Linked DNA regions of Homo sapiens: all the other regions are linked to region 2. Evidence: promoter capture Hi-C in 16 types of primary human blood cells and fetal thymus (Javierre and others, 2016). All regions are on one chromosome and are shown on one strand. The core of a region is centred on a gene start or on the middle of the fragment in contact, and the rest is flanking DNA. Distances in the headings are between cores, read along the strand shown. Region 1 overlaps VAV3 (vav guanine nucleotide exchange factor 3). Region 2 holds the start of VAV3-AS1 (VAV3 antisense RNA 1). Region 3 overlaps VAV3 (vav guanine nucleotide exchange factor 3). Region 4 overlaps SLC25A24 (solute carrier family 25 member 24). Region 5 overlaps SLC25A24 (solute carrier family 25 member 24). Region 6 overlaps SLC25A24 (solute carrier family 25 member 24). Region 7 overlaps SLC25A24 (solute carrier family 25 member 24).

Region 1 (2,700 bases), core at 29-2,528, 160 kb after region 2:
AAAACCCAACCCCCACCCCACCCCTGCTGCCATCCAAGAGTATTGTTTCAACAACGCTATCCTTCACATATGAAAGAGAGATAATCTTTGCCAGACAGACAAAAGTTTAGAGAATTCACCACCACCAGACTTGTCTTACAAGAAATGCTAAAGAGAGTTTTTCATTCTGAAAGAAAAGATTAATGTGCAAAACAAACAAACAAAAAAAACCAAAAATATTTGAAAGTATAAAACCCACTGGTAAAACTGAAGTTCGGATACAGCCCCAGAATACTTTAATACTGCAATTATGATGTACAATACACTCATAACTTTAGTATGAATCCTAAAGCACAAAGTATCAAAAAGAATAATAGCTACAGAAACCTGTTGAGATAGTCAATACAAAAATGTGTAAATTGAGAAAACAAAAATGTGGAGAGAATGGAGTTAAAATAAAGATTAAAGTTCTCTCTTGTTTCTTTTTTGGGGTGATCTGTGATAAGTTGTCATCTCTGTAAAATGACTTGTTATGTCTACAAGATTTTTTTGTAAGCCTCATGGTAACCTACATGTTAAAACCTATAATAGATATGCTAAAATTAGAAAAAGCAATGAATTAAAACATGTTACCAGAGGAAGTCACTTAACCACAAAGGAAGACAGTAAAAAAGGAAGAACGGAGTTACAAAGCAACCAGAAAACAAGCAACAAAATGACACCAGTAAGTCCTTACCCATCAGTAATAGCACTGAGTATAAACAGATGCAGTTCTCCAATTAAAAGACATAGGCTGGATGAATACATAAAGAAACAAGACCTAACTATATGCTTCCTAGAAGAAACCCACCTCACCTATGAAGACACATGTAGGCTGAAAGTAATGGGATAGAAAAATATATTCTATGCAAGTAAAAACCAAAAAATGGGGGGAATAATTATACTTAGATAAACAGATTATTAGTCAAAGACTTTAGACTCTGCCTAATAGAGAAGGTGACTATATTAATAATATAAGGGGTCAATTCAGCAGGAAAATATAACAATTATAAATATGCATCCAACACTAAAGCACACAAAAGCAACATTAGTAAATCTGAAGGGAGAGATAGATTGCAATAAAGTAACAGTCATGGACTTTAACACTCCACTCTCAATAATGGATTAATCATCTAGATAAAAAAATCAACAAAGAAACAGCAGAGTTAAACTACTACACTAGACCAAATAGACCTAAATGACTTTTACAGAATGTGTCACCCAGCTGTTGTAGAATACACATTATTTTCATTAGCATATGGAAGTTCATCCAAAATGCACCGTATCTTAGGCCAGGAAACAAGTCTCAGCAAATTTAAAAGAGCAATATATCACATGTATTTTTTTACCACAATGAAATAAAACTAGAAATCAATCACAAGAAGAACCTCTCTGAAATGAGACAAACACATGGAAATTAAACAACATGCTCCTAAATGACCAAAGGGTCAATGAATAAATTAAGAAAGAAATTTTTAAAATTCATGAGACAAATTAAAGTGGAAATATGACATACCAAAATCTGTGGGATACAGCAACAGCAGTACTGAGAGGGAAGTTTATAGCAGTAAATACCTACATCAAAAAATATAAAGACTTCAAATGAACTAATGCACCTCAAGGAACTAGAAAAGCAAGAACAAACTAAACCCAGCCTTAAAAATGAAAAGTTGGTTTTCTGAAAAGATAAACAATATTGACAAACCTTTAAATAGACTACCAAAAAAGAGAGAAGGCCCAAATGAATACAATCAGAAACAAGAAAGGCGACATAACAACTGAGACCACAGAAATAAAAAGAATCATTAGAAACTATTATAAGTATAGGCCAACAAATTGGGAAAACTAGAAGAAACAGATAAATGCCTGGACACATACAACCTGACAAGATTAAGCCACGAAGAAATAGAAAACTTCAGCAAACCAATAAGGAGCAACAAGATTGAAGCCGTAATAAAAAGTCTCTCATTAAAGAAAAGCCCAGGACCTGATGGCTTCACTGCTAAATTCTACCAAACATTTAAAGAACTGATACCAATTCAACTCTAACTCTTCAAAAAAAAAAAAAACTGAAGAGGAAGAAATACTTTCAAACTTATTCCACAAAGCTAACATCACCCTAATACCAAAACCAGACAAGCACACAACAGAAAGTAGACTACAGGCCAATATCACTGATAAACACAGATACAAAAGTCCTCAACACAATATTAGCAAACTGAATTCAGCAACACATTAAAAAGACCATTCACTATGATCAAGTGGGATGCATCCTAGGATATGATAGTTCAACATATGCAAATTAATAAATGTAATGTATCCTCTTTACCTAACCAAGAACAAAACTATAAGATCTTTTCAATAGATGCTGAAAAAACGTTTGATAAAATTTAACATCACTTTATGATAAAAATCCTCAACAAACGTTAAGAATAGAAGGAACATAATTCCAAATAATAAAGGCCATATATGACAAACCCATAGTCAATAGCATATTGAATGGGGAAAAATTGAAGGCCTTTTTGCTAAGATCTGGAAAAAGAGATGCCCATTTTTATTCAACATAATACTGGAAGTCCTGGCCAGAGCAGTGAGGTCAGAGAAAGAAATAAAGGCCATCCATATTGGAAAGGAAGAAGTCAAATTATCGTTATATGCAGATGACATGAACATTTATTTAGA
Region 2 (2,845 bases), core at 142-2,641:
CAAAAGGGCCAGAACAGCAACGGCAAACAGTTCCGAGCCTGACAGTGCAGGGGCAAACCAGCTCCAAGTGAAAATCACCTCGCGAGGAAATAGGCTCAGGGATCGGGGCGGTTTCCGCAGGCGTCTCCACACACGCACTCTCACTCACTTTGAGGGTGCCAAAACACCACTAGGGGCAACTAGGAGGAATAGGCTGAGGAATCAGCTATAGAGAATGGAGGGGATAGAGCTGCAAGGGGCGAGGGGGCGACGATCTCTAAAACTTTCAGCGCCGTGCTCTACTGATGCTCTAGGCACTTTTTTCATTGCTCTGGGGAGTCTGGGTGCCCCAATTAATCCGTCGCTCCTTTGAGCATTTGTTGTTTAGGGGGTCCTGGGGGACCCCATCGTATTACAGTATTCAGCCACACTCCCCGCAAAGCCGGGAAGCCGCCCCGAGAGAAGACCCCAGGACGCCGGGGGCTGCGTGAGCCCCGCAAGGCTGCAGGCGGGGGCGCGGGATCCCCTTTCTGGCCGCCGCCCCCCTCCGCCGGCCCCTCCCCCGCGCCCCGCCCTCGGCCACAGACCCCAGCCCCGGCCGCCGGCGCGCTCCCACCCGCGCGTCTGGGGACTTGCGGACCGCAGCGAGACCGGCCGGCGTGCTGGGCATGCTCAGTGGCGGGCCGGGCGCTGGAGTCGGAAGCCTGTGCGCGGCAGCCGCCGCCGAGCCGGCCGGGGCGCACGGAGAGCGCGCGGGACTCGCTGCAGCGGCGGCCGGGTCGCGGCGCACCCGGGCCGGGACCGGAGCCGAGCCTAGCGCGGCGCCCGCGACCCGTCAGCCGCGGCTCCTGCTCCCTCGATCCCGCGCGGGGAAAGGGCCGGCGGCTGTTGGCGTCGGCGGGGCGCGGAGGAACCGCGGCGGCGGCGGCGGCGGCCGCATCCTTGCCGCCCGCCCCGGCCCAGCCGCGTCCCGGAGCCGTCGGGCATGGAGCCGTGGAAGCAGTGCGCGCAGTGGCTCATCCATTGCAAGGTGCTGCCCACCAACCACCGGGTGACCTGGGACTCGGCTCAGGTGTTCGACCTTGCGCAGACCCTCCGCGATGGAGTCCTGCTCTGCCAGCTGCTTAACAACCTCCGGGCGCACTCCATCAACCTGAAGGAGATCAACCTGAGGCCGCAGATGTCCCAGGTGAGGAGGCCGGCACGGGCGCCCCGCCTCCAGCCGGCAGCTCCCATTAATCATGCGGCTAATTTCTTTGTGTAAATGCAAACGTCTAGGTGCGCTGAGCTTGCCCTGCTTCCCAGCCTTCTGCTTTGGGACCACTTCGGCACCACTTTGGCGTTTCCTACCTTGGCTTGAAATGGTTTAGCTCCTCAAGCTGAATGCGAAAGCTTTGCGTCCGGAGATGGTGTGAGGATTTCGTAAAGGCTTTCTGTGAGGCGGGAAAGAAATAAGTTGTCTTAGGGTGCCCTTCACCTACTCTGCGTGTGTGTGGCGCGACAAAGGGAATTTGATCAAGCTCTTCTATAATAACGAAGGGGAGGGACGAAACGAGGTGATGGGGTAATTTGCCTTTAGTCTCTTCTTTTGCTTTGCGTCTTGTACTCATGTTTTCCTAAAAGAGGAACCATGACATACATGAGGACTCGAGGAAGTGAAGGGCGTTTGGTCCCGTTATCTGTCCAGGAGTGACATTGGTCAAAGGGAAGAACAGGGAGCAGAACCCGGAGGCCGCCCCCAGGGCCCCTGAGCTGGTGGCCAGCCGGCAAGCTCCCGTTTACAGCTCTTCCTAAGCCATGTGAGAAGGAGCGAGTCCAGCCTCTCTCAGCAGCGACAGGAAATGAGAAGTTTCACTAGAGATTCCGCTTTCCTTCCTGCAGTGCCCTGCTCAGGTGCTGTGGTGCCGGTCGGCTCCTGGGGCTGGAGCTGCCTCTTTGAGGGTTAAGCCAGACACCTCTGGAAGGTTGGGTGCACCCTAGAGTCAGCTCAAAAGTCACAGTTCAGTGGAAGAGTAGTTTATTTGTCCTGTCGGAAAATTTTTGTACAGAAGGATGTTAAACTCGGTTCAGAGCCTCTTTCTCTTTCAGAATGTTAAAACAAAACAAAAAACCAAACTGCTTTCAACTTAAAAGGGAGAGGACAGAGCCCTCTCCCTGACACATTTCAGCACTAATCCTCTATGACGCAGAGCCTCAGCTACTTAGCAACCAGAGCAGCGCCTTTTAAGAAGGAACGGACTTTATATGATTTAATAAGTATGTATTTAAAGTTAGAGCACACACAGTCATCTGTGATTCTTGGTGTCAGTGTTTCATCAGGGTCCCCTGCACTTCAGATTCTGCATTCCTTGCCTGTTTGCCTTCAACCTGCTGGTGGGCAGTCCCTAAGAAAGAACAGGCATGGAAGTGGGGAGAGCCATACGTATTTAAAAGTGAGGTAAATTATTTTATACCCCCATAAACATGCATGGTGATTGCTACCTCTCGGTACCCCTTCAGAGTTGTCTCAACTCTGGAAATTCCTTTGAGGGGTTTGGCAGACTTTTCTATTATGGTGGGAGCTGCAGTTAGCTACTCTCACACATCCCCATTTTCCACTTTGCCTGTAGCCTCAGGAGGCAGCGTGGGTCAGGATGCCTTGGCCCACCAGTAGGGAGTACAGTACTGTGCACATTTCCTGGAACTTGTTTCCTGGAACTCTCAGCAGTTGCTCTCAATAATCACGTTTTCTGGACAGCTGAAGACCTTTTTAAACCTCGAAGCCTTTATTTGAATGCTAACAATGGATGAGAATCGTTTTGAATGTGTTTCACTCTTCTCCTCTTATGTTAGATGTAATTTAATCTTTCTGATGACCAAAGATTGT
Region 3 (2,700 bases), core at 20-2,519, 220 kb after region 2:
GCTATATAGTGTGGATCCTTAGGTAGGAGACATTGAAAAACATGTTCTCTACCAGCAGCATTAGATTTTTTGATATTCTTGAAGTTGATGCCATAGATGAGTATTTCTCTTTTATGTAAGCCTTCAACTATGTAATTGCAGTTTTGCTAAGGCATTTTTATAGACACCTAACCTGATGCTAGCCCTTCCAGATGTTTCTTTCTAGTAGTCTGGCTTGCTTGGATAAAATTTTTGGAACCAAGCAGGATGGGCAATTCTCATTTTATCTAGCCTGTCATTTAAGTAGCACTGATCTCACTCATTTGTATATTGAAAATTGTAGAAAATATGCAAGTCATATGGTATTTGGGGCCTCCTTGCTCCTTGGAGATGTAGACAGAGGTTAGCCCAGATTCCAGTTTTAGGGTCTGAGGTGCTCAAGGCCCACCTACATTCTCATATTTCTCTCTCTGTCCATGTTCTTGATTCACTGTGGCTTTTTTGGTTTTTGTGTGTGTGTATATATTTTTTTAATTTTCCCACCTGTCAGACCCAGGAGAAAGGATCTATGCCTTTTCCATTTTCCACCTGAAATCCATTCACAGTCTATTTTTTGTAATGCCAACAGGCGTCACAGTGGGGCTTATGTCATGCATGTGTTCCCTCGGCTGTTTCACTGGTCTTTGACACCCTCAGCAGCACCTGGAGCATGACCCTCCCCACCCTGCACTGCTCCCTGCAGAGGACCAGCACCCCTTGCCTCACCACCCCTTCAGGGAGCGGCTAGTCAGGCCGGACAGAGTGCCTCCCACACCCATCCTGGGATTTAGAGGAATAAAGCCATGTCATGTTACCCAGCAATTCAAAATTAAGCTCTCCAGTGAGTGTTTCAAAAGAAATTGGTCTTTGTTGTTAATTTTTGAAAGACCCATGTTTCTATTATTAAAGGTTTGGCAACAAATTTGACATTCAAATGTGAAAATTTAAAAGATTCACTTTGTTAATATTTTTGCCCAGATGGAGATGCCTACAGTATCTGCATGAAGCTGTCGGAGTTCTAAAGCAGGCCTAAGAAACAGCAACTACTACCGCTATGAGTACTGCTAGTCCTCTCTTCCCTTCCTGTCCCCTCCTCTCTCCTCTTTTTCATTTTCTTCATCAGGAGGTTTGTTTGGATCTTCTCAAATGTTTAAATAAGTTTCTGTTGAGACAACAAATTTCGTCTCTTAGAACAAGGGCCAGCAACATTTTGTTGTAGGGGGCCAGAGAGTAAATGGTTTAGGCTTTGTGGGCCATATGGTATCTGTCAGAGCTACTCAATTCTGTCATAGTTAACTACGAATGCAGCCATAGATTCACATAAATGAATGAGTGTGGTATGTTCCAGTAAAACACTAGTGGTTGTATTTGGCCCGTGGGCTGTAGTTAGTGACCCCTGTCCTACAGCACAAATAAGATGACTTAGGCCTAGAGAATTAGTTAATATATGTTACCACAAAATGATCTCAGCTATAATGAAACCACGCTGTGGCCTTTTGTAGAAGTGTGATTTTTTTTTTCTTTTATTTTTAGTATCAGTGATTCCTGCTTAGGCTATCATGATGATTTAGCTCCAAAATGTTTTTTAACTCCACCAAAAAAAACTATAAACCTGGATGAATTATCTATATTTGTCATTATTATTTTACTGTCTAATTGAATATTAAAAATGTCTGCTCACAGAACAGACTGTATCTATTCAATTTCTAGTTTCATTAAGTTTTATCACATGGTTTATTGAAAAGGACAGGTCCCACGGAGTCCAGGCCAGTAGCAGCCATGTAGTAACTTTTTCTCTATTCAGTAGTCAGCCATATCAACAAGAAGCATTTTTTTTTTTTTTTGAGATGGAGTCTTGCTCTGTCGCCCAGCCTAGAGTACAGTGGCGCGATCTCAGCTCAGTGCAACCTCCACCTCCTGGGTTCAAGTGATTCTCCTGCCTCAGCCTCCTGAGTAGCTGTGATTATAGGCACGCAACACCACACCCAGGTAATTTTTGTATTTTTAGTAGAGACAGGGTTTTGCCATGTTGGCCAGGCTGGTCTCAAACTTCTGACCTCAGGTGATCCGCACATCTTGGCCTCCCAAAGTGGTGGGATTTCAGGCGTGAGCCACCATGCCCAGCCAAGAAGCATTGTTTAATCAGTGATGCTCTTTGTGCTCTTGATGCATTTTCTTCCCAGCAGCAATACCATTTGTGCCTGTTATTTACTCTGAAATTTCCTCCCTGGAGGGCATACTAAGGAAAACCAGAAGGGGTAGAGGAAGCCTGTGGTGGTATCAAGAGTTGGCCAGAGGGGGAGCCTTCCTGGATGAGCTGGATGTGGGGATGACATTTTGTCACCTGCTTTGGCATTTTCTTAGTGTCCAAAGCCCGTCAGTGTCTGTTTGGAAACTGGAGGCCTTACTGGCATAATGGCCAAAATATGTCTATAAACTGTCTGTATATTTGTCAGCCCTTTTGGATTGTTTTTTGTTGAGAAATTATTTTCTCTAAAAACCTCACATTCTTCCTCCTTAAAATGCTTGCATGACCAGTTTTTAATGTGAAGAATTTGTTTATGGGTGCAGAATCCATGCCGGCACCATCAGTTGCCTCTGGGCTGTGCTGAGAGTCTCATGGTGCTGACCTATTCACATTAATCTCCCAAGTTGAAGCCAGCTCAACTCTCCCTGAATCTA
Region 4 (2,706 bases), core at 164-2,663, 230 kb before region 2:
CCACATCCTCGCTCATTCAGGGTATCAGTCTTTGTAAAGTCTCCTATTCTGCAGGTGAAATTCCTTTTCATTTCCTGTCTTAGTCCATTTAGTGTTGCTATAGTGGAATATCTGAGACAGGGTAATTTATAAAGAAAAGACATTTATTTAGCTCACAGTTCCGCAGGCTGGGAAGTTTAAGAAGCGTGGTGCTGGCATCTGCTGGACTCCTGGGGAGGGCTTTCCTGCTGTGTCACAACATGGTGGAAAGTCAAAGTGGAAGTGGACATGTGTGAAGAAGCAAAATCCGAGGGGTGTCCTGGCTTTATAGCAACCCAGCCTCGAGGGAACTGATCCATTACTGAGGGAACTAATTCAGTCTCATGAGAGAGAGAACTCACTCACTACTGCAAGAATGACACCAAGCCATTCATGAGGGATCTGCCTCCGTAACCCTGACACCTCCTGCTAGGTCCCTCCTCCCAACACGGCCACATCAGGGATCAGACTTCAACATGAGTTTTTGTGGGGACAAACAAAACGTAGCACTTGCTTTGCCTTTTGGTTCTATTCACATCCTCCACAGGATTGCATTATGCCTACCCATTTGGTGAGGGCAGTCTTCTTTAATTGGTTTACTGATTCAAATGCTACCCTCCTCCAGAGACATCCTCACAGACACACCCAGAAATCATGTTTTACCAGTTATCTGGGCATCCCTTAGTCCAGACGAGTTGATACATAAAATTAACCATCACACATGGGATAGAATTAGGATTACACAGTCAACCTTTATGGGAGAAAATTTCAGAGGCATGTCAGGGGTTTATGTAATGTCAAGGAGTGAGGACATTGGCTACTTGAGCATAGAAATGAGAACTGTGGGGTGACTCTTCGGTGGAAAGTTTCAAGGTAGTAGTTTGTATCTAAGCCAAATACTCAGCTTGAAGCAAAATCTCTATAAATTTTCATCTGATTTGATCTCATCTCCGTGTTTCCAAGCATTTGTAATGAATTGAGCATTTAGAAGAGAACAAATTTCTGTTTAAGTTTCTTTAGATTTTAGATGGAAAGAATGTAGAAATAAGAGTAGAATGTAGAAATAGGTATAAGGAATATAATAGCTAACCATTACTAAGTGTTCCAGAATTATCCAGGGAAGAGAAAAGAATTCAAGGCAAGTCCTGAGACAAAATTAAGAACCAATTGGAAGTGAAAGCGCTACATTTTTTTTTCTGGTATGACCTTTCTTTTCTGTATGTTCCAAATCTCCTCACTATGAAATTAGTGAAAAATTAAAGTTAAAAATTAGAGAAAATTCACATTAAGTTCTCCTAGGACTCAGTAGTATAAGGGTATAGACTGAGAGTAGAATGTAGTGTGAGAACAAGGAGATACAGTATTTAACCATTACTAATTCTCTTATACTTGTCTAGTAATCCTATTTCCTTTTAAAAGTCTTCAGTTATTTTCTCTTTACGCACCTCCTTCTCCCTCTTGTCTTCCTCCTTCTACCCCCATCTTCTTTCTTCCTGTGGAGCCTTCATGAATGGGATTAGTGCTTGTATAAAAGTGACCTGGAAGACCTTCCTTGCCCCTTCCACCATGTGAGGACACAGTGAGAAAACAGTGGTCCATGGAACCGGAAAGTGGGTCCTCACTAGACAGTAAATCTCCTAGCACTTCGATCTAGGACTTCCAGTGTCTGGAACTGCAAGAAATCAATGCTTATTTTTTAAGTAAGCCAATAGTATTTTTGTCATAGCAGCCCAGTTGGACTAGGACAATTATCAAGAGCAAGAAGGGAAGCAGCAAGCTACAAGAGAGTTCCGTCCTTGGTGTAAATTGACCGTGTAATCCTTGTCAAGTTTGAGCCTTACTGGAGCTTTACTTTCTTATTCTTAAAATGCAGATATCTTGCCTGCATCCTGGACAGAGCTTTTAACAAGGTCATATGTTGCAGAATATGAAAGTTCATGTTAAAAAACCCTTTAAAATGTGGTATCCCATTTACTAGCTGGTGAACTTCTTGAGGAACCTCTGTGCCCATGGGTATGAAGTGTATGCTGAATGATCACCCAATGTTAGAGGAGTGGGTGGACTGGTAACCTGATTTAAGGGCCATTCTAACTCTTACATTCTATGATTTTTTTAATTCTGTCTTTAAGTTTTTACATTTACAATCACAGAAAAAATAGTCACATAGAAGAATAGTAGCTTAGCAAATGTTTATTGCATTGAGTGGAATCAGGATTTCACTCCATTAAGTAATTCCTCTGTTAACAAAGAGGGTTCATTTCATTTTTATTTCATTAATATTGCTTTTTTTTTTTTTTTCTGGAGACAGAATCTTGCTCTATCACCAAGGCTGGAGTGCAGTGGTGCGATCTCGGCTCACTGCAGCCTCTGCTTCCTGGATTCAAGCGATTCTTGTGCCTCAGCCTCCCAAGCAGCTGAGATTACAGGCACATGCCACCACACCTGGTTAACTTTTGTATTTTCTAGTAGAGATGGGATTTTGCCATTTTGGTCAGGCTGGTCTTGAATTCCTGGCCTCTAGTGATCTGCCTGCCTCTGCCTCTGAAAGTGCTAAGATTACAGGCATGAGCTACCATGGCCAGCCCATTTCCTTAATATTTTAATTGTCAGACATGTTATGGTTTCTGGCACAATATTAAGAAGACATGATATGAAATCACAGGGTGAATTTTAGGGCATCACAACAGA
Region 5 (2,830 bases), core at 232-2,731, 210 kb before region 2:
CCCATCTTGGCCTCCCAAAGTGCTGGGATTACAGAAGTGAGCCACCGCACCTAGCCAGCAGCTTTACTGAGATGTAATTCACATGCCATAAATTCACTTTTCTAAAGTATACAATTCAGTGACTTAAAACATTTATTTATTTTTAAATTGACAGAATTACATGTATTTATCATGTACAACATGATGTTTTGAAGTATATGTACATTGTGGAGTGACTAAGTCTAGCTAATTAACATGATACATCTCATACTTAATGATTTCTGTGGTGAGAACACTTTACATCCATTCTCTTAGTATTTTTCAAGAATATAATATATTATTATTAATTGTAGTCTTCATGTTGTATAGTGGAGCTCTTGAACTTATTCCTCATGTCAAGCTGAAATTGTGTGTCCTTTAACACAAACCATACCCGACTCCCAAAGTATTCTGCTCTCTGCTTCTATGAGATTAACTTTTTCTGATTCCACATGAGTGAGATCATGCAGTATTTATTTGTCTTTACCTGGCTTATTTCATTCATATTGTTACAGATAACAGGATTTCCTTCTTTTTTTAATGGCCGAATAGTTTTCTATTGTATATATATAGCACATTTTCTCTCTTCATGCATTGGTGGACACTTAGGTTGATTCCGTATCTTGGCTATCGTGAATAGTGCTATAATGAACATGGGAATGCACATGGCTCTTTGACATATTGATTTCATTTTATATATGTGTATATATATATGTATACACACACATACATACAGTGGTGGGATTGCAGGATCATATGGTAGTTCTATATTTAATTTTTAAAGGAACTCCATACTGCTTTCCATAATGGCTGTATTAGTTTAACTCCTCACCAACAGGGTGCAAAAGTTCCCTTTTCTCTACATACTTGCCAACACTTGTTATCTTTTGTCTCTTTGGTAATAGTCATTCTAAGTGTAGTATGAGGTGATATCTCATTGTGGCTTTTATTTGCATTTCTGTGGTAATTAGTGATATCGAGCTTTTTTTTTTTTTTTGTACTTTTTGGCCATTTGTATGTCTTTGAAAAATGTCTATTGGGGTTTTTTGGTTGTTTATTTGAGGTTTTTTGTTTTTATGTAGGCATTTACTGCCATAAACTTTGCTCTTAAAATTGCTTTTACTGTGTTCCATGGGTTTTGGTATTATGTGTTTCCATTTTTTTTCATCTCAGGAAATTTTTGAATTTTGCTTTCAGTTTCTTCATTGACCCACTGATCATTCAGGAGCATGTTGTTTAATTTCCATGTATTTGTGAATTTGCTGAAGCACCTCTGTTACTGATTTCTAGTTGTTGTTTTTTTTTTTGAGACGGAGTCTCACTCTGTCCTCGAGCTTGAGTGCTGTGGCCCGATCTTGGCTCACTGCAAGCTCCGCCTCCCGGGTTCCCGTCATTCTCCTGCCTCAGCCTCCCGAGTAGCTGGGACTACAGGCACCCGCCACCACGCCCGGCTAATTTTTTGTATGTTGAGTAGAGACGGGGTTTCACTGTGTTAGCCAGGATGGTCTTGATCTCCTGGCCTCGTGATCTGCCCGCCTCGGCCTCCCAGAGTGCTAGGATTACAGGCGTGAGCCACCGCGCCTGGCCTGATTTCTAGTTTTTTATTATTGTGGTCGGAAAAGAAACTTGATATGATTTCATTCTGCTTAAATTTGTTAAGACTTGTTTTGTGGCCTAACATATGATATCCCCTGGTGCATGTTCCATGTGCAGTTGAGAAGAATGTGTATTCTCTTGCCATTAGGTGAAATGTTTTATGTCTGATCTGTCCATTTGTTCTAGAGTATAGTTTAAGTCTGATGTTTCTTACTGATTTTCTGTTGAGATGATTTGTCTATTGCTGAAGGTAGGGTGTTGAAGTCCCCTACTATTGCTGTATTGCAGTCTCTCTCTCCTTTCAGACGTATTAATGGTTTTTATTTTATTTTATTTGTTGTTGTTGTTGTTGTTGTTGTTTTTGAGACGGAGTCTCACTCTGTCACCAGGCTGGAGTGCAGTGGCAGGGTCTCGGCTCACTGCAGCCCCCGTCTCACGGTTCAAGCGATTCTCCTGCCTCAGCCTCCCGAGTCGCTGGGACTACAGGCGCATGCCACCACGCCCAGCTAATTTTTGTATTTTTAGTAAAGACGGGGTTTCACCATGTTGGCCAGGATGGTCTTGATCTCTTGACTTCATGATCCACCCGCCTTGGCCTCCCAAAGTGCTGGGATTACAGGTGTGAGCCACCACCCCTGGCCAATGTTTGGTATTTATCTTTAGGTGCTCTGATGTTGGGTTCATATATATTTATAAAAAACAATAGCTACATAACTTATTAAGGGATATGCAATATAAAATATATAAATTGTGACACTGAAAATTTAAAATGGGAGGAGTGGAGTAAAAGTACCTTCATATAACTTACTATTATATCCTCTTATTGAATTGACCCTTTTATCATTATATAGGAACTTTGTTTCTCCTTTACAACTTCTGACTTAAAGTTTGTTTTATATGATACAAGTAAAGTTACTCCTGCTCTCCTTTGGTTTCTGTTTCCATGGAATATCTTTTTCCATTCCTTCACCATCAGTCTGTGTGTATTTTTACAGATGAAATGAGTCTGTCATGGGCAGCATATAGTTGGATCTAGTTTTTTTAATCCACTCAGACACTGTGTTTTTTGATTGGATAATTTAATCCATTCATGTTCAAGGTAATTATTGATAAGTAAGGACTTTGTACTACCATTTTGCTTATTGTTTCATGGTTCTTTTATAGATCCTTTATTCTTTTCTTCCTCTCTTGCTGTCTTTTTTTTGTGGTTAAGTGA
Region 6 (2,800 bases), core at 271-2,770, 170 kb before region 2:
GTTTCTGTAAGGCTCAAATGAAATATATGTAACGTGTAAAATGAGATACAATTAGTAGAATTATATTATTTTATTAATACTCACCATAAGAGGTGTTCTTTAGATCCTGCAGCGTTTGCTGCGCAGTTCACGTTTGTTTAGAAGAATGTCAGTAACCGGTGCAAACCTCATGTGTTCCGCACCCCCAGTGGCCTCCCACCTCTCCACAGAGTCACCGCCTCCTGCAGTGCCTGCTGCTTCTGCAAATGCGTGGCCTCATCCTGCAGAAACGGGGCTTCTCATGAGGTTGAGAATAGCTGTGAAAATGTTTACGTTGAAGTTGTAGAGTTCGTTAATTATTTTCTTCTTTATTTCTCTGGCAGCTCTTGAAGTCCTATTGGCTGGATAATTTTGCAAAAGATTCTGTAAACCCTGGAGTCATGGTGTTGCTGGGATGCGGTGCCTTATCCAGCACCTGTGGTCAGCTGGCCAGCTACCCATTGGCTTTGGTGAGAACTCGCATGCAGGCTCAAGGTGAATTTTTGATTACAGAACCACACCGATAAAAGTGCTGCACCAGTAATGTGCTTTTAGAACTCCAAGTTCTACTAAGATGCAGACTGTAGTTTTAAGACAGTATTTCTCAACCTTTTTTTCATTATTGCCTCCTTAAGGAATCTTTTCAGAAATTCTTTTTCTAAATGCTCCCTCGTCATGAAATTTTAATGCGACAGAAGCATTGCATATGTACTGTATGCATACATATGCCTTATAGATAAACAGAGTACTATTTTTTTTGACTGTGTTACATGCACGTTTTAAGATTATAAGCTTTAGTATCTGATGGATTTGGGTTCAGATCCTTGCCTCAGACTTCTTGGGGTTTTTAATGGGAATGAAAATTGTACAGTGTTGTAAGAATTACCAACAATATAAATAAAGCATCTTGGGTTTGTTAAATTTTTGGTAAATGGTGGTTGGAATCATTTTTTAGTGTTGCGTAGACCCTACAAGTTTTGAGCTGTGATTCCTCCTCACTGTGACAGTCTCCATTGTTGGCTTTGATTACACTGTACCATCCTGGTTGTTCTGCCAGCCCATTGATAACTTTTACCATTTGCTGGCTTTTATTGCTATCCCCACTCTATTAAAGTATGCATTCAAATGCCTTTCTTTTCTCTTTGATGCTTTCCCTGGTCAGTCTTATCCATTGTTTTCTTAAGTAGTACACCTTGGGCATCTACAGCTCTATTCCCAACCTCCCTTCCAAGTGCCAGCCACAGCAACCCCAGCCAAGCAGTCAGTAACTAATTGGCAAATACTCCCTGAGCCATTGTCCCATTCTAGACACTGCCAGATGCTAGGGGTAGAGCAGTCAACAAGTCAGGTGTGGCCCCGCCAGTGTAGAGTAGAGAAGACGTTATGTCCAGCAAGTAAACAACCTGGTTAAACCAACTCCTCTTTTGTTAGGGGAGCACAGAGCAAGGAGCTATAACCTAACTTGGGCGCTGCAGAATGCTGTCAGTGAAGCTGAGACTGGAAAGATGAGTGGGAGTTAGCTGGGCACAGGCCAGTGGAGTGGGAACAGAAAACATTCCAGTTGAGGGAAAGCATGTGTGAAGACACTGAGGCAGGCACCAACATGGTGTATTTAAGGAGCTGAGAGACAGTCATGGCTGTAGAGAAAAACACAAAGTAGTGAACTACACGTTTCTTGTGTATTCTCTCATTTCACCATCATAACCATCTTGGGGATGGGAATACTAACATTATCCCCATTTTTCAGATGAGCAACTGGGGCAGAGAGAATTTAAGTAACTCCCACAAGATTATACCTGTGGTAAATAGTGGGACTGAAATTCAGACACATGCAGTCTGATTCTAACCCTCCTGTCTGCCAGCTCTGATCCAGAACTTTGCATGACTGATACGGCTGATAGATTGTCTATGGCTGATAGACTGTCATTTCTGACCTAAAAGTCTGATCATTTTACATCTGTTCAGACATCTTTGCAGCCTTTCGGTGTCAGTTCCAAAGTTGTTAGTGGGAATTTCAAAGCCTTTAATAATCTAGCCCCACTTTGTTCACTCTCTGTGTAATAACCACATACAACAATTGGCTGCATCTCCATAGCACATGGTACTCCTCCCGTTGTCTTGGTTGTGCCAGCAACACTGGTTTTCGCTTTCTCTTCCTGCTTGTTGAGGTCATTTCCAAGGCCCAGGTCTTTGTGCTTTTTCCCAAGCTTCCCAGAGCTTCTTCCATACTCCCCTTACTTCCTGAGATTTAACTGTTCTCTCTTCAGCGCTTGTCTAGTAAGAAGGAGGCAGCAGCAGCACTGTGGGGTGGTGGAAAGTGTACCAGCTTTAGAGTCAGACCATTGGATCTCAGCCCTACCATTTTCTACTTAGATTTTTTTAGGACAAATTTCTCCATCTTTCTAAGCCTCCAATTGCTCACTTACAAAATTGATATAACATTTACCTTGCAAGATTGGTATGGAAGGTAATTAACCCAGTATTTAGAACATAGTAATTAATAAATAACTATTATTACCATCATTACTATAGTTAGGACACTCACTGTTAGGTGCTATACAAAGAGGATCATAAAAGGGATGTTGTCTTGGGCTTCTTGGAATAAATGTTGTCCTTTTACTGTATTTTAGAATATCATTCTGGGTCATAATTGTTTGTTGTCATAATAATGAAACATACTTGAATATTAAATTACCCTCTTTTTTTATTTTTTAGCCATGTTAGAAGGTTCCCCACAGCTGAATATGGTTGGCCTCTTTCGACGAATTATTTCCAAAGAAGG
Region 7 (2,700 bases), core at 144-2,643, 190 kb before region 2:
TTATCTGTAGGTGGTCATAAGGTACAGTATTTTTAAGTGACTACCACATCTGTAGTATAAGCCAAGTAATTTATCAGTACTCACAGGATGGGTACATGTTGTAATGAATTTATTGCCTAGAGAGGGCCTCAAAATATGCCAAAGAGGGTGCAATTTTTATTTTTGGTTTCAGGCTGTATGCATTCCAGTGTTGGTAGCCCTGATATACACAATATCCAAACCATTTCAGACCCATTTACAGTTCATGTCTGTACTACTTCTTGAGGAGAGGGAGTAACATATTACTTTAAATTATATGTAATAATATACATACATTAAATTATATGTAATAATATAATATTATTATCTGCAGTATACTTTTTTATTTCCCTTTAACTGAGCCTGTTCATGTTTCAAAGGGTGTTCCATTGCCTGATACATAATTTAGTTAATATTATCTTATGAAGGTTGTTCATAATTTTAATACTCTTCTTGTCTTCTCTCTCTGCTTTCTCACACTGAAGATACCAATTATTCTTAGTTTTAGAGTCAGAGACAGGCCTCTAAAATCATGGCAATACTCCCTCTCATCATTATATATATTTTTCAACCTTTCTATATTTTATTTTCAAATATATCTTCTTGCAGTTAGAAAGGGTATTGAAAAAGATTGTGTGGTTGTTCTAGAAAAAGTAATAGTAATATGCCACCAGCATTTTATATCATTCTGCTTTTATTTTTAGGTTCACGGTTCAAAATCAGACAAAATGAACATATTTGGTGGCTTTCGACAGATGGTAAAAGAAGGAGGTATCCGCTCGCTTTGGAGGGGAAATGGTACAAACGTCATCAAAATTGCTCCTGAGACAGCTGTTAAATTCTGGGCATATGAACAGGTAATTGTTATCACCCGTGGAATTTATTAACAAAGAGGAGTTAGTAAACGGATTCAATAAATGTTAATGTATAATGCTTTTGGGATTCTTGTTTTAATACATGATAATCTTTCACATATACTCCATAAGGAGGATCACTTATAGGAGATTAGACTAAATAAAATCAGAGATTTCTCATGACCAAGTTATGGGATTCTTAATTCATCATATTATTTATAAAGTTTTTTTTTTCTAAGTAGTTCTTAAAGGAAGGGTAGAATTTTAGTTTATTCATTCTGAATCCTGAGCAGAAGCAGCACACTAACATAAGTTTTATGAAAGTGTCACAATCTAACCTCTGGAAGGAAAACTATAAGTTGAAGTCCTTTGTGTAATTTGACGTTGCTGTAAAATTGAGCTGAGTTTGGAGTGACACCTCCATGAAGGCAGGGGCGTGGCTTCTTCCCCATGTACTCCAGCACCTAGACAGAGCTTGGCATGTGATAAGTTTCAAGCGAGTGTTGAATGAGTCAATGAATGAACAAATGCATTTACCTCTGAATCACTTCTCTGTCGGCTTTTGTTAACTTGGATTATTTGAGCTATTGCTTCAGCCTAACTCAATGTAAAGGGGAAATACAGAGGTAAGTTTTAGAGTTTGGGTTCTCTTTATGGTCATTAGCAGAACTGTCTAGTTGAGCAGCCACAGATTATGTTTTCCATTATTTATTCCATCATTGTTTATCAAGGACTGTAAGGGCCTTGAAATTCAACTCCCCCCCCATAGTTTTTGTATTATTCCATGTAGATTTTAGATTATTCTGGAGAGTGTTTTGTTCTTGAGCAAGAGAATACTCTTGAGAAGTTTACGAAGTCCAGTGGTATCCTTTTCTTTGCCTAGGAAATAGAGAAGCAAAAAAAAAAAAAAAATTAAAGAAAATCTAGTCTCCAGGATTTTAATTAGAACCTATCCTTGGGAAGGCTATTTTCCTTATATGAAGGTTTGAAGATTCAAATCATGATTATTAAGGGCTAATGTTTGAGATACCCTTAGGTTATTCTGACCACATACTTGGATTTTATGATAGGAAAGCCACAGCCTAAAATAAATAAATACTCAATGCAGTTATTTCAGTATGCAAGAAGTTTGGTATTTTTGAAAAAGTCCATGGGTATTGCAAGCAAATATGCACATTTTGCTTTATGCCATTTGTCAGATTCTTACCTTGGATACCACCAACAGGCATCCTCTGCTTCTGTCCACCCAAGCTCCTTCCTGAGACCTCTTTATAGTATTGTGATTTCTGCACACTAACTTTCTTAGACATGAAGAGAAAGCTGTCTACACAGTGTGGTGTAGTGTTCTTATGGGCTCTGGACCTATGGTGCTGTTTTCTCTCCTCCTGCTGAAGGTCCATTCATCCCTCGGGGCTCTCTAAAAGCCACCTTCCTGTGACAAGCATATACTAAGCATCTCAATCAAAGCCAGTTCCTCCCCTGTCCAGCCTCCCTCGAGTGCTGAATTGCAGAATATCCCATTTTTCATTGGATGATGGAAAACCCATTGTTTTCCCAGTGGATTGTAAATTACTTCGGGGTAAATAGGCTGTATATATTCTCAAATTTCCCAGAGTATGTAACTAGGTCACTTTTAGATTCAGATAGATTTTGTTCCTTGAATAGCTAGTACTTTAGGAAACTAAGAAAAAGATCTTTTCAACCTGGTATGTAGCTCTGTCAAACACATCATCAGTATGGGGTAAACCTGTGTTCTCTGTGGGTTGTCATTACCATAGTAGTGTCATTGTATCATTGACAGTGTAATAGTGTGGGGTAGTGTTCTTGT

Evidence for each region. Contacts are between HindIII fragments. The CHiCAGO score rates a contact against its expected background, and 5 or more counts as called.
Region 1: a contact is called between a fragment that was not itself captured here and the fragment with the promoter of VAV3-AS1 in region 2, in 16 of 17 cell types (total B cells, naive B cells, total CD8 T cells and 13 more). The highest score is 17.5, in total B cells.
Region 3: a contact is called between a fragment that was not itself captured here and the fragment with the promoter of VAV3-AS1 in region 2, in 3 of 17 cell types (naive B cells, monocytes and total B cells). The highest score is 6.7, in naive B cells.
Region 4: a fragment that was not itself captured here is called in contact with the fragment with the promoter of VAV3-AS1 in region 2 in 9 of 17 cell types (M0 macrophages, M1 macrophages, activated CD4 T cells and 6 more); the score reaches 7.4 in M0 macrophages.
Region 5: a fragment that was not itself captured here is called in contact with the fragment with the promoter of VAV3-AS1 in region 2 in 1 of 17 cell types (M1 macrophages); the score reaches 5.4 in M1 macrophages.
Region 6: a contact is called between a fragment that was not itself captured here and the fragment with the promoter of VAV3-AS1 in region 2, in 13 of 17 cell types (megakaryocytes, monocytes, M0 macrophages and 10 more). The highest score is 10.8, in megakaryocytes.
Region 7: a fragment that was not itself captured here is called in contact with the fragment with the promoter of VAV3-AS1 in region 2 in 3 of 17 cell types (monocytes, M1 macrophages and non-activated CD4 T cells); the score reaches 6.3 in monocytes.

What each region holds. Positions count from the first base shown.
Region 1 is chr1:107,802,271-107,804,970 of GRCh38, reverse strand. The region is part of intron 2 of VAV3 (vav guanine nucleotide exchange factor 3); the gene reads left to right. Among named protein-coding and RNA genes, the nearest start is that of MIR7852, 94 kb to the left of the region's middle. The HindIII fragment of the contact is 8,884 bases long and covers 1-2,700 here.
Region 2 is chr1:107,962,989-107,965,833 of GRCh38, reverse strand. It overlaps VAV3-AS1 (VAV3 antisense RNA 1), which reads right to left and starts at 1,391. Exons shown (of 3, transcript NR_046653.1): 1 at 1,330-1,391. It overlaps VAV3 (vav guanine nucleotide exchange factor 3), which reads left to right and starts at 654. Exons shown (of 27, transcript NM_006113.5): 1 at 654-1,168. The coding sequence starts at 965. RefSeq lists enhancers at 1-167, 1,514-1,643. The HindIII fragment of the contact is 9,456 bases long and covers 1,374-2,845 here.
Region 3 is chr1:107,739,449-107,742,148 of GRCh38, reverse strand. All of the region lies in intron 15 of VAV3 (vav guanine nucleotide exchange factor 3), which reads left to right. Among named protein-coding and RNA genes, the nearest start is that of MIR7852, 160 kb to the left of the region's middle. The HindIII fragment of the contact is 4,265 bases long and covers 1-2,700 here.
Region 4 is chr1:108,195,613-108,198,318 of GRCh38, reverse strand. The region is part of intron 1 of SLC25A24 (solute carrier family 25 member 24); the gene reads left to right. Among named protein-coding and RNA genes, the nearest start is that of SLC25A24, 3.4 kb to the left of the region's middle. The HindIII fragment of the contact is 3,460 bases long and covers 1-2,706 here.
Region 5 is chr1:108,177,308-108,180,137 of GRCh38, reverse strand. The region is part of intron 3 of SLC25A24 (solute carrier family 25 member 24); the gene reads left to right. Among named protein-coding and RNA genes, the nearest start is that of SLC25A24, 22 kb to the left of the region's middle. The HindIII fragment of the contact is 4,417 bases long and covers 1-2,830 here.
Region 6 is chr1:108,136,771-108,139,570 of GRCh38, reverse strand. SLC25A24 (solute carrier family 25 member 24) reads left to right here. Exons shown (of 10, transcript NM_013386.5): 9 at 363-513; 10 at 2,734-2,800. Among named protein-coding and RNA genes, the nearest start is that of SLC25A24, 62 kb to the left of the region's middle. The HindIII fragment of the contact is 1,415 bases long and covers 813-2,227 here.
Region 7 is chr1:108,153,158-108,155,857 of GRCh38, reverse strand. SLC25A24 (solute carrier family 25 member 24) reads left to right here. Exons shown (of 10, transcript NM_013386.5): 6 at 723-875. Among named protein-coding and RNA genes, the nearest start is that of SLC25A24, 46 kb to the left of the region's middle. The HindIII fragment of the contact is 3,573 bases long and covers 1-2,700 here.